2 separate regions of the Homo sapiens genome follow, and region 1 is linked to region 2. Evidence: promoter capture Hi-C in 16 types of primary human blood cells and fetal thymus (Javierre and others, 2016). All regions are on one chromosome and are shown on one strand. The core of a region is centred on a gene start or on the middle of the fragment in contact, and the rest is flanking DNA. Distances in the headings are between cores, read along the strand shown. Region 1 overlaps SCRN1 (secernin 1). Region 2 holds the start of GGCT (gamma-glutamylcyclotransferase).

Region 1 (2,888 bases), core at 52-2,551, 550 kb before region 2:
GTACGCCTGGTCCAGCTGCAGCCTCGCACAGAGCTAGTGCCTGTGCCAACGCCTAGAGCTGCCCATCCCGCCACAGCTGGCACACCTGGCTGTGTGCAGTGGCTGGACCCCATGCTTGCTCACACACCCCTTTCCTCTCTGCGCCTGGCTTGTGCTTGGAAGGCATGGGATCCAGGCCAGTAGCATAAGCTGAGTACAGTGTGCAGGGCCAAGTGGTGGAACAAGCCCAGCAGCCCGACCAAAACTCAGGCAAAGGTGCCACCAGCCACAGAGGTTTCCGGCTGGAAAAGCAACACCGTAAGGATCGTGTGACACTGGGATTACAGGCATGAGCCACTGCACCTGGCCAAATTCCCACTTTTATGTTAGCTTCTATTGGCTACTCATTACTTGGAACCAACTTCATGAAACATGCAAAAATGTGTACGTGTCTTTATATGCCTCTTCCTCAGGAGAAAGGGACTAGTGGTCAGAGAACAGTGAATCAAAAATAACAGATGAAGCTTAGCTTTGAGATAAATGTCACTGAAAACGCATTATAAAAACAATATTGCCTAATGCTTACATTCCCACAAGCCTCTAGGAAACATACACAAATTATACCTTTATCTTAAAATCAGTGCCTATTACATTGCTACTGTCATTCCCTTATGTCTCTTTGAACTGAGGTTGGATTTCACATGCTGCTGGAAAGTGCAAAGTACCAGGATAAGTATAGGGGCAACTACTGTATTCATTGAATAATCAACCACAGTCTAGCAGGCCCTTGAAAGAGCATGTGAAATGGACATAGCCTGCTCTCATAGAAGCTGTCCAGGGAGGAACTGGCACTAGACACAGAGTGCAAGCAAGGCCAGAGAAAGTAGTGGTTCCTCACACAGCAATACCTAGGGAGGCACTGAGCCCCAAATTAAGAGAATGAAACCAACTGATAGAAAGTTTCCTGTGGAGCAGCGGTTCTCACCGTAACCGTGCATCAGCACCAGCTGGAGAACTTGTTAAAACAGGTTGCTGGCCCCTGGGTGTGAAATAGGGACCGACAATTTACATTTCTAGCAAGTTCCCAGGTGATGCTTGTTCACCAGCCATACTTTGAGAACCACTACTCTAGAACTTGCCACTCAAACTGTGGTTTTTTGACTTGTAGTATCAATATCATCTGGAGCTTCTTAAAAATTAATACTAGAATTAAATCATTAAAAAGGAAATCTGGGGTGGGATGTGGTGGTCCACGCCTGTAATCCCAGCACTCTGAGAGGCTGAGGCAGGCGGATCACTTGAGGTCAGAAGTTCGAGACCAGCCTGGTCAACATGGTGAAACCCCGTCCCTACTAAAAATACAAAAATTAGCTGGGTGTGGTGGCATACACCTGTAATCCCATCTACTCAGGAGGCTGAGGCAGGAGAATCGCTTGAACCTGGGAGGCGGAGGTTGCAATCAGCCGAGATCATACCACTGCACTCCTAGGAAACAGAGCAAGACTTGTCTAAAAAAAAAAAAGAGAGAGAGAGAGAGAATGCTGGGTAATGAGCATGAGTTACTTTTAGGATTTGGTTGGTATGAAATGACCCTTCAAAATCTGGCTATGCTTGGCTGAACTGATCATAGCTGCTTTAAAGATGAACTCAAAAGATCCACTTAAGGTGCAGATGCCTGTGACTCCATCCCCACCCTGAAGAACCTACCAGTGCTCTTCACACCCTTTTTATTACAATAGCTGGACATGGCTAGCCCAAGATGGAGTTAACGTTATATGGTGAAGGTTAAACTCTCACCCTGTCATCTACTCCTGACCTTGCTAATTATCACAATGCCAAGTCTGTGACAAACATATCTTCTGTGTCTACCTCCCTCAGCCTTGCAGCTTCAGGTCAAATGAACCTGCCCCTCAAAGCATTCCCAAATATGACCAGTCTGTGATAATCTGTGAACATCCCGCAGTGTTTGCTGAAGGCCACACCCTGGAATTCTGTGCCATTCACGTGGCATCAAATCTCAGATCACTTTGAGTTACCTCTCTCCTACTATCTTCTTATATTATTCTTAAAATTTCCATTGCTCAATTTTCTTCTTCCTGCAACCAGACTAAAATCCCTTTGAAGCTTTGAGCTGCTTCATGTACCCACAGAGTCTAGAACAAAGTAGATATTCAGTAAACTCCTGTTGCTTTATTGGTTGATAATCTTAAAAAGATATATCAGGTGCTCTGAAGAAAGGCAAAAAATCCTCTTCCACTGTCCCTTAGAAATCAACTGTTAAAATGGTAATTTTGCCTGTTCTATAAGTCTCATACTGCAAATACAGTAAAAAATACTGGAGAGCTGTCAAAACATAAGCTAAAAAAAAAAAAACTTCTTGTTATTCTATACATTTCATTTTGCTAATCAAGAGAAAACTAGCTATATATAACTGGTTTTTAAAAACTGGCTTTTTCTGCCTTTTCCCCAGCTCAGGGAAGCTGCTCCTCCTGAGTTTATAAGAATGAGGAACAGTAAGGAAAGGTAAGGAAGGCAGGAAGTCACTGTGCTACCAAAAGGGTGTCCCTCGCAGACCTCTCCATCAGGTGGCAGAGGAGTGAGTTCCCGAGACCACTGTCTAAATGTGCCATTTCCCCCTACAAAACCAAAATCCAACCCCATTCCTTTTTCTAGGATGTTAGCTTTGGGAGTTCTTCGGAAGTCATCCAATCTAGACCTCATATTGAAAAAATGAGGAAACTGTGGCCCAGAGAGGTGATGTAACTTGGTACATCCACACTGAAAGCCAAGAACTCCAGCTCCCAGCCCAATCTTCTTTCAACTATGTCATGATTTTATTTCATTTCACTATTTCAGGGACAAAAAAAGGCATTTCAGAATGTTGCTTTGTTCCAGCCTACCTTCTACTT
Region 2 (2,826 bases), core at 227-2,726:
GGAGTATCAGAGCCTGACTCCCATTTTTGAGGCTTCAAAGGCCAGAAGCTGGTTCTCTCAGTTTTGCTTAAAATCACGGCATGGGTACGTGGCCAAAACTTAGCCAATCGGGACATTCTGGGGCTTTCAATTAGAAGCTAGTGCCCAAGACAGCAGGGACTCCAGAGAGGCTGACACATTTGGGTTTCAGGAACTGCAGGGATGTACAGAGGCAGGCAGTGTCCAGGGCAGGGGGTGGTGGACAATACAGCATCCACGTTTACCAAGTTCAGCAGTGGCGTGGAAGAGGCTCCGTGGGCTGGTTCTGTTGTGTGATGCCCACTGTATTACAGTTGCTGTGCCTCCCTTTATGCTTGTCCGTTTTGTCAGCTTTGTACTCCTGCCTTCCTGGTCATTCTGTGAGCTCTCCAATAGCCTTTCAACACATTCTTTTTTTTTTTTTTTTTTTTTTTTTTGCTTAAATCAGCCAGTTTCTGTTGCTTGCAACTAAGAACTCACGATGTTAGCAGAGATCATGTTTGTCTCATTCGACGCTGTCAAAAAGGTTTTGAACATAATCTATTGCACCTCTGTCCTACAGACTGAGAGTTCCTCGAAACAGCCACTTTACTCAATCATGTTTATACCCTTAGTGTTAAGTGCCGGAAGAATATGTACTAAATGAATGAATGGACTGGGCTGAAGAGCAATGATTTACCAACACTGGTTATAGTTCATGCAGCCCCTTGACCTAACTGAACACAGCATTATTACAAATAAGACATGGTCCCAGCTTTCAGGACCTCTTAGATGAGGAGCGAAAGGCAGGTAAACGGATTTTCACAATGCCAGGTGAGAAGTGCTGTAACAAAGGTTATGTACAGAACAGAAGGCAACCAATTCCCAGACACGGGTCAGAGAAGACTCTCCAGAAGTACCAACTGTATGCAATCTGTTAAGTTAGTGGACGAGAGGCCAAATCGGTGCAGACCGAGCAGCCGGTGCAAAGGCCAGGAGGGGGAAAGCTCCAGGCAGCCCGAGAGGGCACCGTGGCCCGGGCAGGGCCGGGCAGTGGGCGCAGCGGAGGAGGTGGACCCGCCCAGGAGGCGGAAGCCGCGTCCTAGTACCCTCATCAAGAAGAACTGCATTCCTGGCCCGATCGGCCACGTGTGCCCCCGAGGAAGCGCCTTCTGGGCATCCCGGCCCCGGCGTGGGTAGCGCGGGAGGGGGCACTCACCTGCAGGCGGGCCACACAGAAGAACGCCGCCGAGGGGTTTCGGAGGTGGATCCTCTCTGTCAGCAGGTTGCTGCCGTAGGCAAAGTACAGAAAACTCTCCTCATCTGGACCCGTGACGTCCTTGCAGCCCGAGTTGGCCATATCCCACTACGCCCCTGCACTGGAGCCTGAAGCAGAGTGTAAGGAACGGCCAGAGAGCGCAACACTGGGGCCCACTACCCCGGCGCAGTGACCGCCGCGCGGCAGCCTCAGGGTTAGGGGACTGGCGGGAAGCGTGGGCCGGTCGAGTCAGGAGCGAGCGCTCTCCTGATTGGCTGCCGGTCCCCACCGACCTGAGTCGCCCCCTTTGATTGGCCATCCCCACGGCCTTCCCTCCGCCTTCCGCCGAGACTCAGAAATAGTCTGTCCTGAAGCAATCCGGCGCTGGCTCCTCATTGGACACGACCTACTGATGTCCCGCCCCTCCTTGCTCAAGGCTTCCTCTGATTGAGGGGTGGACAGGCACTCCTCACAGGCGGGTCGGGTCCCATGGACACTGGCTGAAGGTCGTGGCGCGTGACTGGTTTCTTCGCTCTGGGGTGCTTGTGTGTGGTTCTTTGGTACTTTCTGTGCCTTAGGAAGTTCTGGTCAGATCTGAGGCGAAACAGCGGCCCAGGCGACTCCATCAACGGCTCCCTCATCCGGCAGCTCGCCGGGTCCTGCCTTCCTGGCCTAGAGGAGTCGGGCAGGACGGGTCCGTTCACCCTTTCTGCTGGTTCCGGCACCCCCAGCACTGGTCATCAATCTGACCCCTTTCCACGGACCCGTCGCCTGCTGGAGCGGCCCCTCTGAATGCTTGGGACTCCCTTCCCTGTTACATGGAAGTTACATGCCTGGGCTTAAATCCCGACGCTGCCATTTACTAGCCAAGTAACTTTGGGCACCTCTGGTCTCCGTTTCCTCTTTTTAAAAATCGGGATCATAATATAAGTTAGGGTCACAGTAGAAACCCCTATATTGTGTTTTGGTTACCCCCTCCCACACACACACACATCCTGGGTGTATTTTTTAAAACCTATATTGTTAACTTTTGAATGAACATAAGGGCATAGGAACATTGTCTATCCTTGACACCCAGCTATTAATCTCTAAATACCACCCCCCACTAAAAGGTACCAAGTGATCCTTCGAGAAATGACTGATGCCAGGTCAGGAGCTAGGAGTGAATGAGGACAACTTGGAACATCTTGTGTCAGAAGCTCAGGACGCCTCTCAAGACGAACGAGGTCCTTCTAAAAGGACATGGGAACCAGCCTGAAGTTGCCCACTGGCCAAAATTAGAACAATTTGAGAATCAAAAATAACAATGACTGCAAACTGAAAAATGATTGGAAACTTTAAACATAAAAAAGCCATTCCCCCCAAAGAGTAATCCAAATTAAAAAAAAAACTATAACTTCATTTGCCACACTATTGGTGGTGACTATTACACCAACTTTACTCTGCAAAGTGATAATTTAAGAAAACAAACAGGTATTCCGCCTTTCTAGTAGCAGCTGTATTTCGGGGTAACTGAAATACAGCTGATGACGAGCATCAGTTGATGAGGAAACAGTTCTCTTTACAAAAGT

Evidence for each region. The method cuts DNA at HindIII sites, captures the fragments that hold promoters and counts their contacts. A CHiCAGO score of 5 or more calls a contact.
Region 1: a fragment that was not itself captured here is called in contact with the fragment with the promoter of GGCT in region 2 in 2 of 17 cell types (total B cells and neutrophils); the score reaches 6.3 in total B cells.

The regions. Positions count from the first base shown.
Region 1 is chr7:29,951,195-29,954,082 of GRCh38, forward strand. The region is part of intron 3 of SCRN1 (secernin 1); the gene reads right to left. Among named protein-coding and RNA genes, the nearest start is that of FKBP14-AS1, 36 kb to the right of the region's middle. The HindIII fragment of the contact is 1,600 bases long and covers 502-2,101 here.
Region 2 is chr7:30,503,353-30,506,178 of GRCh38, forward strand. It overlaps GGCT (gamma-glutamylcyclotransferase), which reads right to left and starts at 1,477. Exons shown (of 4, transcript NM_024051.4): 1 at 1,217-1,477. The coding sequence starts at 1,357. RefSeq lists enhancers at 685-1,564, 1,213-1,422, 1,565-2,443, 1,863-1,952 and a silencer at 883-1,062. The HindIII fragment of the contact is 6,754 bases long and covers 1-2,826 here.